2 separate regions of the Homo sapiens genome follow, and region 1 is linked to region 2. The links are contacts of gene promoters, found by promoter capture Hi-C in blood cells and fetal thymus (Javierre and others, 2016). All regions are on one chromosome and are shown on one strand. Each heading gives the region's core, a stretch centred on a gene start or on the middle of the fragment in contact. The rest is flanking DNA. Distances are from core to core; before and after follow the strand shown.

The links. Contacts are between HindIII fragments. The CHiCAGO score rates a contact against its expected background, and 5 or more counts as called.
Region 1: a fragment that was not itself captured here is called in contact with the fragment with the promoter of ATP2B4 in region 2 in 2 of 17 cell types (total CD8 T cells and activated CD4 T cells); the score reaches 5.3 in total CD8 T cells.

Annotation. Positions count from the first base shown.
Region 1 is chr1:203,276,414-203,282,553 of GRCh38, reverse strand. No RefSeq gene overlaps it. Among named protein-coding and RNA genes, the nearest start is that of LINC01353, 7.7 kb to the left of the region's middle. The HindIII fragment of the contact is 386 bases long and covers 1,261-1,646 here.
Region 2 is chr1:203,623,733-203,630,077 of GRCh38, reverse strand. It overlaps ATP2B4 (ATPase plasma membrane Ca2+ transporting 4), which reads right to left and starts at 3,246. Exons shown (of 21, transcript NM_001684.5): 1 at 2,859-3,246. RefSeq lists enhancers at 1-291, 2,505-3,377, 3,378-4,252 and silencers at 346-405, 466-545. The HindIII fragment of the contact is 13,651 bases long and covers 1-3,585 here.

The DNA.
Region 1 (6,140 bases), core at 204-2,703, 350 kb after region 2:
CAGTACAACCTCACGGATTCGTAGATATGTGAGCTGGGTCATGGGGGCAGGGTCCTGGGTCCTGGCTCTAGAGTACCCTGAGAGGGAGAGACAGGTTCTCGCTGCTCCCCCAGGCCCAGGGAATGCCTGGATCAGATAGTCGAGTTCTATTTGGGGAGTAGAACGTCACAGTTCAAACACAGAACCAGAGGCCACTCTGATGTTATTTACAGACCTTGTCTAAAGATCTAGCCTCCAAGCTGGGAGGGAGGGCAGTGGGCTTGCTGCCTTCTCCAATTTCTCCTGCTCTCTGAATTTCTTATATCCTGTCACCATCCCTCACCCTCCTACCTTGTCTCCATCCAGGAGCACCCTGTGCTGCGGTATCTGATGTGTCACTCACAGCTAGGAGCCTGGAAAGAGTGTTCTTAGGACAGAGGGAGGGGATTGGGAGCAGGACAGAGGACCCACCACCAGTGCCAGAGGACCCAGAGAGGTTCCTAGACATGGGGCTAGAGAACTGGGAGTGGGAGAGGGGCAAGGAGGGTCCAGGAAGGCCTCATTGGGTTGGGTGAACATTTCCCTGCCCCGAGTTCTGGGGCTTTCTGCCTGATGGGAGTTACAGTGAAAAACAGCAGGATGCTTTTCTAGGAAGACTTTGGCAGGTTGGGGGTGGGGGCGGTAACGGTGATTTCATAATTATTTCACTCCTAGTGAAATATTTATTTCACTATTAATTATGAAATAGGAATAATTTCATAATTATTTCACAAAAACTTAATGAGCAGCTACCATGCTCTAAAGTACTGGCAAATGAAGGTGAATAAGACAGGGTCTGTGCTGTCAGCAAATGTTCAGTTTATCTGGAGAAACAAGACGGATGCTTCCTGAGTAGTGAGGACTACAGGAACGTGCCACCCCATGCCCCACTAATTTTTTATTTTATTTTATTTTATTATGTGTAGAGACGGGATCTCCCTATGATTCCCTGTCTAGTCTCGAACTCCTGGGCTCAAGTGATTCTCTCCTGCCTTAGCCTCCCAACATGCTGGGATTACAGGCGTGAGCTACCATGCCCAGCGAAGAGCATTGCTTTCTTGGAAAACCAAGGCCAAGGAGGATGGCATTGATTTTTTTCCCTAGGAAGGCCCTGTGGGAATCCCAAGAAAACTGGACAAAAGGCAGCTAGCAGCCATTTAGCTGTGGGTCATCTTCACCTGCCACTCCTTCTTCCAAGGGTGGAGGCCCAATGCCCATCCTCTCCAGAGAAAAGGACAAGCTTGAAGTTCCCAGCCAAGCCCTCTACTGGAGGCAGCTGGGCTGGGCTGGAAGGAGGGGAAAATCCAGTCTGAGGCAGAAGCATGCTTTGGGGTTCTGCCTCCTGAGTCAGTTCTGGCTGCCCAGGGGCAAGGAGGAGTGGCCGAGCCCCACCCAGATCTCTGGGATGCTACATTTTCGTATTTTACATCAGTATAAGCTCTCATCTTCACAGTCTCGGGGCACCAAGTTCTTGTAAACAGAGGGAAATGTACTCTAGCAAAACTTCCCAGATCTGATCTACTTATTCAACAAAGTATTTACTGAGTACTCATTCATGCCAGACTGTTCTACATGCTAGGGATACAGCAACAAACACAAAAGGCAAAAATCCCTGCTCCCTTGAAGCTTATATTCTACCAGGGAAGACAGACGGTAAATAAGGAAATACCTAAAATAGTAATGATATTTACTATTGATAAATATTAATGATATTTACTAATGATAAATACTATCATAAAGGCTAACGTGAAATAATCCAGCAGCAAAGTGGGATAGAAGGTACCAATAGTGAGGCCAGGCGCAATGGCTCATGCCTGTAAGAAGCACTTTGGAAGGCCAAGGCAGGTGGATTGCTTGAGGTCAGGTGTTCAAGACAAGACTGACCAACATGATGAAACCCCGTCTCTACTAAAAATACAAAAATTACCTGGGCATGATGGCACATGCCTGTAGTCCAAGCTACTCAGGGACTACTCAACTCAGGGGAATCGTTGAACCTGGGAGGTGGAGGCTGCAGTGAGCTGAGTTCCCACCACTGCACTCCAGCCTGGGCAACAGGAGCAAGACGCCATCTCAAAAAAAAAAAAAAAAAAAAAAAGAATGTGCCAACAGCGAGCATATCATTGAAAGTTTAAATTGGACAGCCAGGGAGGGCCTCATGGAGAAGGCAGCCTTTGAGGGAGGCATGAGGATTCTGAAGGAATAGAATTCCAAGCTGAGGAAATGGCACGTAGAAGGGCACTGGGCAGAGTGGCGTGCAGCTGGAGCCAGGAGAGCAGGGGAGAAAGTGAAGAGGTGGAGTCAGTGGTGGTGGGCGACACCATCCTAAAGGGCCTCGTAGGCCATGATGAGAATGATGAGGACCTGGGCTTTTCCTCTAGTGAGAAGGAGAGGCCAAGGAGAATTTTGGCAGAGGAGTCAGATGATGTGACATATTTTTAAGAGACTGCTTCTGAAAGCTGTGCTGGAAATAAGTGAGGGCTGGGTGTCAGTGAGAAATGGTGGTGGTTTGGATTGGGTTGTTGGCAGTTGGAAGGTAAGAAGAGACTGGACATTTTAAAAGAGGAATCTACAGGGTTTGCTGACAAAATGTGGGTTGTGAGAAAAACCCATGTGTGCCAGGCACCATGGGAATATGTAATGTCGTTAAAATTTTACGTTAATCACGTAAGCAAGGTTCTATTTTTTTTTTTTTTTTTTTTTTGAGACGGAGTCTCGCTCTGCTCTGTTGCCCAGGCTGGAGTACAGTGACACAATCTCGGCTTACTGCAACCTCCGCCTCCCAGGTTCACGCCATTCTTCTGCCTCAACCTCCCGAGTAGCTGGGACTACAGGTGCCGCCACCACGACCGGCTAATTTTTTGTATTTTTAGTAGAGACGGGGATTCACCGTGTTAGCCAGGATGGTCTCGATCTCCTGACCTCATGATCTGCCGGCCTTGGCCTCCCGAAGTGCTGGGATTCCAGGCGTGAGCCACTGTGCCCGGCCTTTGCAAGGTTCTATTGTTATAGGCCACTTTATAGACGTGGAATCGCTTAGAGAGGCCAGGTGACTGGAAAAATCACATAGCTAGCAAGAGGCAGAGCTCTGGCATTTATTTATTTATTTTTGTTTTTTGTTTTGTTTTGTTTTCTAATTCCAGGTTAAGTTCACATAGAGCTGGTATTTAAACCAAATCTTCCACTGAACACAGACCTTGAACTCTTAGCAGCTATACTGTACAAATCTCATCCATTCATTCAACAATTCTCCATTGCTCATCAGCTCTGCTTCAGGCACTGGTCTACATGTTGAGGACGCACAGATGAGTAAGAGAAAGTCCTTGACTTTGAGGAATTTATGGTTTGGAGGCGGAGACAGAGGTAAATAGAAATAACAACAGCGACATAACCATGCAAAGTCCTAAGCTCTCAGAGGAGAGGTGAGAAAAGACCCCTCAGAGGAGGTGACGTGTGGGCAGATGATGAGTAGGGCTTTGCCAGAAGAATAGGAATGGATGGAAAAGCATTCCTGGCAGACGGAGCTGTGTGTGCAAAGGCCAGGAAGCCCCCAAGAAGGGCAAGCACTGGTGCAGTGTTTTGCTGTGGGAGTAGCGCAAGGAGGCCTGGGAGGCGAGATGAGACAGAGAAGTGAGCGGGGCAGTCAGGAACGCCTGGAAAGGGCTTCCCCAGGCTAGGGGCAGTCGTTGCAGTTACCAAGGGGGTGTGGAGCGAATCAGATCTCTCCTTATGTGGAGGGCGGACACCAGGCAGCAGACACAGTTTTCCCTATTTCAGTATGATGCTCCCTGGGAAATCTGGTAGGACTGAGAGAACAGTCCATGTTTCCAGGAAACAAACAGTACTCTGTCCCTGCGTGCATGTCTCTCTGTGTGTCTGTCTATAAATATCCTCAGACGCAGCACTTGGCTGCAGTCTCCCCCGAGCCCCCGCGGCATCTTGCTCACACTCCCCAGCTGCCTCCACCCCTCCTCCTCTCTCCTGGCCAAGACCGGCCCCGGCAAACACCAGTTTCACTGCGCAGCAGGCAAGGCTGGGTGGGGGCCAGGACTGTGACCTCTGCCTTATCATTATTCCCTGTAGGACACCAAAGCAAGTGTCCAAACAGCAGCAGGAAGGGTGAGAATTTGGCTCAAAGAGGAAATCTGGAGACTGTTAAACCCAAGCTGAGCATGAACTGATGCCCAAGTGGGGCGGGAAGGGGAAGTTTGTTTCAAAACCTAACCCACATCCAATGGTTCACAGACCATCTTGGTCAAAGGCTGTGAATGGATGAGATGGTGACCCTTGTCCCATCCAGCTCTGTGATCCTTCAGATCAGATTGGTCGGGGGAGAGACAGCAACAGAGAAAGACAGAATATATATACCTATATGTATTTGTACACACACACATAGAGACAAAGACAGACACAGGAAACAGGCAGAGACAGAGGGAGGCAGAGGCAGATAGACAGTCAGAGACAGAGATGGGGCCACCAAGTATGGGTTCAAACCATGACAACTTTTTTTCTTTTTCTCGAGACAGAGTCTCACTGTCGCCTAGGCTGGAGTGCAGTGACGCGATCTTCGCTCACTGCAACCTCCACCTCCCAGGTTCAAGTGATTCTCCTGCCTCAGCCTCCTGAGTAGCTGGGATTACAGGCACACGCCACCGTGCCTGGCTAATTTTTGTATTTTTAGTAGAGATGGGGTTTCACCATGTTGGCCAGGCTGGTCTTGAACTCCTGACCTCAGGTGATCCACCCACCTTGGCGAGCCATGACAATTTTCAAAGACACAGCAAGGGCAGGCCTATGAGAAATGTTACACAGGATTAATGTGATACATATCAGAGTCCAGCTCAGTTCCCCTTCCAGATTTCCAGCTCAGAAATTTATACCCCTGTCTCCCCTTTTCTTGTCAGCCCTGGAAAAAAGCAAAAAGAAAACCAAAAACAAAGTAACACAAAAACCCAGAGGGACAAGGAAACAGAGGGAAACCACAGACTCCCACAGGTAAGCACTGAGGGCAGCTTCCTCCCCAAGCGCTTCCTAACCCTTCTGTTCCTAGCCAAGGGGGAACCCAGGTTTCCAGCAGCTCTTCCTGAGTCTGAGCCCCATCCAGCAGGTCAGGGCCTGGGTGGGGGCAGCCAGGGTGCTGTTTCCAGGCACGGGCTGCCTCCCACCCTTCTAAAGTACTGCGACTTGGCACATCTCACCAGGCAGCTGAGCTGAGCACTCGAGTCAGCCAAACACCCTTCTGGGCTCTCGGCTCATCAGGGGCCGCCCTGGGAGACAGCAAGTCCTGTTCTCCATGTACTCTAGCATGAAGGATAGGCCGTGTGACCTCAGCAGGCCCCTTCCCTCCTGGGACCCAGTTTCCTGGTCTGTAAAATGGGAATAAAAACAGTTGCTTTGCTAACCCACAGGATAGTGATGAGCAGGGATGGAAGTGCCAGCTGTGAAGGACGTCTGTGAGCTGTGTGTGCAGCACACACAGTTCAGGGGATCCCGATGTCCTACCTGCTCTAGGCTGGCTTGTGTTCATGTCACCCACAGCAGGCTTCCAAGCAGAGCAGGGATAGGAGTTAGCTTTCTTAGGGGTGTGTTTTCTTGAAGGGTGACCCTGAATTGGGGTATCTTCAAGAAGATCTGTTTGGGGGCTGCCTCTCTCCTTCAGAGGTTTGTGTAGAGAGTGTCAGTGGGGTAGAGGTTGGGAGGGGGCCATCGCCGGGAAGAAAGGCTCTTCCAAAAGGCTTCCATCCTCCTGGCCCAAGCAGCACCCCACACCCTCTTCTCCACCCACCAACCCCAAATCTTCAGATTTCTCTGGGCAGCTCCAGCCTCAGTTCCTTGGTCCCTCAGGTCTCCAGGTAAGAAACAGTCTGGGGGGAATGGGGGAAGCAGATCACCCCGGGACTTCCTCCTCCCTCGTCTCCCTTCTCCACCGGTGGGCTCATACCAGCAGGATCAGGGACACAGAGCTGAGGCCAAGGAGCAGAGGGACTCGGCCAACCTGGTTCAGATGCCTGCGGAAAACCTGCCCCATAGCCCTGTTTGTGAAGTTGATCTTTCTCTCCCATGGGCTTGGTAAAATCTCTATATTTGAAACTTTAAAAACCAGCATCTGTGTCATAACTATG
Region 2 (6,345 bases), core at 1,997-4,496:
TGATTTTCTTCTGACAAAGACCACAGCAGTGTGACAAATCTGCCTAGCCACGCCCTGTCACCTCTACCGTGGAGAGCAGGCTTTCCATTGTGCAGAGGGGAAACTGGAGGCCAGACGGCGGGTTAGGAACTCGCTGGCGTCAGGCTGATTCCAAGGCCCCCAAACTGCCCGTGCTTCTCTCAACATGCCTTGACCCAGCGCTCTAACATCCCAGGCTCCGTGCTGGGCGCTGGGAGTCCCAGGGGTAAGACGGGCTGTGCTCCTTTGACTTGACCTTGAATCTAGAGACTTGGTGGTAAATGGAAGGGAGAAGGGTCTGAGGCTCGGCACAACCTGGGAGGCAGGAAGCCTCCGTTCGCCGCTCGGTTCGCATTCTCCACGGAGTTCTCAGACTACAGCAGAGCCCGGGAGGGTGGAGCCCAGCGGCGGAGAGGCTGGCGGGGCGGGGTCGCAGAGGCCGCGGAGAGCACAGGGGCCGCAGGGTTGCGCAGTCAATCCTGCCCCGAGCCCCGGGGGAAGGGCTGAGACTGCGGGAGCCGATTACCCCTTTGGCCGCGACCCCGGGCTCAGGCGACCCGGTGCGCGCTAAATAACGACCTCACGGAGAAGCCGTCCCCGAGCCCACCAACATCGACCCCTAATCAGATTACTGAAAATAGGAAGGCCGGCTGCAGGAATAGCTGCACTCTGAGCCTCCACGATGGGAGGCCGCGGCGAAAGCGGCGTGATTTTCGAGGTTGCACCTCAGCAAGATGGTGGCAGGGAGGATGGGACTCCCGAGGAGGAGTATAGAAATGGATCCCCTCCCTCCAGAACACGGGCATTAATTCTGTCTTGGGGGCCCTGCCCACTGGGGAAGGCCTCATTCCCTTCTCGAGCAGAACACAGGTAGGGAAGAGCTGTCTAGCCGAGGGGTGCAGTCAGATCAATCAACACCTCAAAGTGAAAATCAAATCGTTCCTGTTGCATCCCCAGCCCCGAGATGAGCTCTCCTCTAAGTGTTTTACTTCCTTCTCCCGCAGTGTCTCAGCTGTAGCCTTTACCACTCCTCCAAGCCCTGGGGCTGAAGGCAGGTGTTTCCTCTCCCCCAGCCTGATTCCCACAGATTTGTCTGCTTCAGGGTTTAGGGCCCACCTTCCAGAACACGCCTTACCAAGCTGCCACCATCCTTCCTGCCCCTCCCAGAGTCTGCTCCCCAAGCCACCACCCTCAGCCAAGGAGGGTAACTCAGCACATGGGCTAGGAGGCCTCTTCCACTCCCCTTCTTCCTAAACACTCCTGGCCCAGCCCCTCGTCACTCCCAGGCTGCTTTCCTGGGCCTGGCCCAGCCTGGAATGAGCCTGGTCTCCTTCCTCCAGGTAGAGGGCTCAGAGTGGAGGGGGCGTAGTAGGGCCTCCAATGGGAAGCGCGTGGAGAAGGGGCAGCTTGGGGAGGGGCTTAAGGAGCAGGGCCAGGGTCTCTAGACTCCCTGCCAGACTCCTCACACAGAGGAGGGGGGCGCTGCAGAATGGGATTTTGTTTCCCTTCCCTCCCCCACTCCTTTCCCCTCTCCACAGGGGCCTCAGTTGAGTACCGGCCTATTTCTTCATCTGACATTCCCCCTGCCCGGCCAGCAGGCGCCGGCATCACGTCTGCAAGTTATTGTTAAGTCCGGCAGGAATGCCCAGGAGGGACGTGCCTCTGGCAGCAGAGTGCCCACTCCCCTCCCAAGATGCGGCTGGCCACTCCTGCACCCTCCACACCCAGTTGGAGAAGAGCGGCGGGTACCCTCAGGGAGGTGGAGGAGTGTAAGAGGCCAGACTCGACTCGGGGAAGGATGCCAGCAGCCCCCTCTACCAAGAGCGAGCCAAGTATGTAAAAGAAAGAGAGAAGGGAGAGCAGGAAGGACAATCCCAGTCTTAATTCCTAGCTCTTCAGCAAGCCAAGGCAGTGGCCCGAGACGCTCAGGGATCCTTCCACAGATGCCTGTGGCCCACCCCATCTGCCAAACACTCACCAGCCCCACAGTGTCCAGCCTCGACATCGGAAACTTTTCAATTCACCCTTCTCCTTCCTCCCCTTTGGGACCAGAGATGTGTGGGGCGGTGCCCTCGGAGACACTCATACAGTTGGTTCTGGACGCTCACACACACTCAAACAACAGCGGTACGAGGTAACTCCCAGCTTTTTCCACAGCTAATTATACATGTGAAAGTCTGAGGATGTTTTGCAAGCAGCACAGAGAAACTGCTGAGGTTTCTCTGCAAAGCTAAAGAAATTTAATTCGTGCACTCTCCTTCCCCACTCCTGCCAACTTCTCCCAGCCCACCTCCACCCCATGGCCCCAAAGTGCCCCTCTCCTAGTTCCCGCTGCAGCCCCTCTTTCTGCTGAAGATTTCTTTGGTTCCTTTTTTTTTTTTTTTTCCATCTCTCTTTTGGGCTTTCGAGAAAGGGAACAGACACGGAAAATATTTTTGCAACAGTTTTCCATCCTGCGTCTCATTCCCAAGCCAAGGGGGGAAGGGGAGGGCAGGAACGGAATGGGTTGAGGGAGGGGAGATAAATATTTTTTCCAAGAGCTCAATTTTGGTGTCAAAAAGAGAACCCTCCATTACCCTACCCCATAGCCCAGGAATGACAAGAACTAGGAAAAGAGAGATAAATCACTTGTTCGACTATATGGTTTCTCAGAACTGATAATAGGTAAAACAGTATTTGACAAATCTGTGCACACACACATATTTTAAAAAAAATCCTCCAAACCCAGTCGCATGAAATATTCTAGAAAGAGGAAAATCGGGGAGTTTTAGAAGCCATTGAGAGAAAAGAAAGAAACAAAGTTTGCAAATCACAAGTCAATTCATTCTCTGCAAGCCTACCTCTCTTTCTAGCAAAGATCCAGGTTTCTTCAGGCGGGACTCTCCCTCCGGGTTTCCATGGATGAGGGTAGGGTGGGGTGACCACCCACCAGTCTCCCCAGTGTGGCAACCAAGCTAGAGACGCTGGCTTTGCTCTCTTGCCTTTCTGGCTAAGGCCGGGGAGTGGGCTGGGTCTCCTCCCCCTGCCCCTCCAATGGGAAGGACCTCTCAGGTTCCTGAAAGAAAAAGGGTGCAGGAGAGCTGGGCGGGTGTCTCTGATCTTGCTCTCTTCGGAGGGATGGTGCCCCACGAAGTTCGTGCCCCCCCTCCCAGCCCCCAGCTTTGGACGATCTCAACAGCAGAGCTTTCTTAAGAAAATGCTTGTCATGGCAACAGCTCTAGCTAACTCGGGCCAGACTCTTGCTCACCAGCTCTCCCCAAGCAGTGCGGGAAGAGAGAGGGGAGGAGCAGGAGCTGGAACAGAGGTGGGACTTGGCGCGAGGCCAAACCATTACTCTACTGTTAAGGTGGCCCGATTCTTGCGGTTACTTCCTGGTTCGTCTTAAGGGGGAATGGGAAAAGAAAGGGAAGCAATCCTCTCCCCTGTCGGCTTTCTTCCCCGCCCTTGCTCTCACTTGTTGAATAGAAAGCTGAGTAGGGGTGGAGGAGGGGTGAGGGTGGAGGTGGGGAGTGGATGTGGGTGGCGGTATTCAACGGTTGCTGGGCGGAGGGGAAAAAAAAGGAAGCTTGGGCAGGCGGCTGGCTTCCTGCAGCTCCTACGGGCCTCTCAACCCCTTACTCACTTAGATCCAGGACCCAGAAACCCGAGGTGTCTGTGGACACTTGTATGTCCCCTCCTACCTTCCTGCTCCTGTCTGAATAGGGGGTTCCTTGGAGAAGGAGAATAAATTGTTTTGTAAACACACACACACACACACACACACACACACACACACACACACACACACCCGTCCTCCCCTACACCTTATATACAGGTCACATTTTGTTCCCTCTTGTCCCTGTACCCACCAGAGGTATACTGACAGTGCATGAAAATAGCTGCTTACTTTTGAGTCCTGCTATGCGTGGGCTATGACACCAAAAGCTTTGTCTATATGGTATCGTTTCTAGTCCTCATTTAATCTTGAAAGGTACTTATTATTAACCTCATTTCCTAGTTGAGGGAATTGAAGATTGAGTGTCTGGCCCAAGGTTATACATCCGGCTAATGACAGAGCCAACGATTCAAGACCAAGTCAGACAGACTCCAAAGCCCGAGTACTTTCCTGTACTTTGTATCATACTCCGGCACATATTTCCGTTTTAATTTGCACACACTCAGACATCCATGCACACTTATACACAGCCTGTAAACAGTTAATCACACCCCCATACCCACACACCCACTAGCATTGTGCAACAGTGCCACCCATAGATTTTGCATAGAACTTTATGGCTTTCAAGCACAAACATGCACCATCAGCTGGTTCACACAACATATCTTCATTGACTGACAGATTCCCACACCTACCTCAGCAAACACACTCATGTTTATATGCTTATGGAAGGCACATTGACATATGTCTCACAGGTTATAGCTATGAGCTATGCTGTGAAGAAGGTGACTGGCCACTACTTCCCAACCTTTTAAACAGAGGGTTGGGAAAAGGCCTCTTTGATCCTATCATTCTAACCCAACAGCTCACACCACCCCCTGTCCTTCTTTGCTGTCATCTCTGCCCCCAAGAAGCAGAGCCACATGTGCATGGAGAAACAGGGTTGTGAAACGGGGTCCAGTTTCCCCCGTGTCCAACTAGCACCCTTCCCAATGTTCTCTCATTTGGGTCCTCTTTTTCCTCTTCATTTTCTTACCCTGCTATTTCTTTTTTCTTTATGGTTTTTTTTTTTTTTTTTGAGACGGAGTCTTGCTCTGTTGCCCAGGCTGGAGTGCAGTGGCGTGATCTCGGCTCACTGCAAGCTCCGCCTCCGGGGTTCACGCCATTCTCCTGCCTCAGCCTCCCGAGTAGCTGGGACTACAGGCCCCTGCCACCACGCCCGGCTAATTTTGTTTTTGTATTTTTAGTAGAGACGGGGTTTCACCATGTTAGCCAGAATGGTCTCGATCTCCTGACCTCATGATCTGCCCGCCTCGGCCTCCCAAAGTGCTGGGATTACAGGCGTGAGCCCCCGCACCCGGCCAGTAATGTTTTTAGACTGGTTGGGCTGGGCTCAGAACTCAGAGTTCATCAATGTGAGGCTGGAGATTGCCTGCTGTCATCTGAAAACAAAATCCAAAATAAGCCCTGGCTAGGCACAGTGGCTCATCCGTGTAATTCCAGTACTTTGGGAGGCTGAGGAGGGAGGATCACTTGGGGCCAGATTTCAAGACCAGCCTGGGCAACATAGCAAGACCCACCCCATCTCTACAAAAAAATTAAAAACAAGAGAAAAAAAATAAGCCCCTGCCTGTGCTTGTGCCTCTCCCTGCCAGCAGCCGAAGAAAGTTGCAGGGGTAAGGGGAGATTTTAGGGTCACCCTCTATGGGAACTATGGATTGTTTGGTCTTTTTTGTCTAGTGATTGACTGTCTGACACTCAAGGCACTTACAGGACACTAAAGGTGACCTTTGTTCTCATTTCAGCCTCTTGCAACTCCTCTAGTCACTCCCACCTTCCCAGGGCATTTCAAGAACAGTTAGTACCTTGTTAGATTCCTTCCTTCCTCCCTCCCTCTTCCCTCCCTCTTCCATTCCCTCCCTCTTCCCTTCCCTCCCTCTTCCCTTCCCTCCTTTTTCCCTCCCCTTCCCTCCTTTTCCCTCCCCTTCCCTTCCCTTCCCTTCCTTTCTCCCTTTCTTTCCCCTTCCTTCCTTCCATCTCCCTTCCTTCCTTCCCTCCCTCTACCTTCCTTCCTTCCTCCCTCCCTCTTTCTTTCTTTCTTTCTTTCTTTCTTTCTTTCTTTCTTTCTTTCTTTCTTTCTTTCTTTCTTTCCTTCCTTCCTTCCTTCCTTCCTTCTTTCTTTCTTTCTTTCTCTCTTTCTTTCTCTTTCTTTCTTTTTCTCTTCCTTTTTTCCGTCCTTCCTTCCTCTCTTCCTTCCTCCCTCCCTTCCCTCCTCCCTTTCCTTCCTTCCTTCCTTCTTCCTTCCTTCTTTTTTTTCATTATGGGTCTCCCTGTGTTGCCCAAGTTGCTTTTAAACTCCTGACCTCAAGTGATCCTCTCGCCTCAGCCTTCCTAGAAACTGGGACTACGGGCACACCCTACAATGCACAGCACCCTTGTTAGATTTTGGTAGACCCTAGCAAAATATCAGCTTCAGGAGCCCAAATCAATTGTTGGGGAAGACATGAGAAAGAAAGGAAAAGAAATGAATCAGCTTAACAGAGCTGCAGATTTAATGGCTTGTCAGGCTCCCTGCTGGATGGCAACAACATGACATTTTAGCACCAATGAGTGTCAGTTGCATCTTTATCATAAGAAAGCCAGTCTCTGAAATGACTGTTTAAATGTATTAA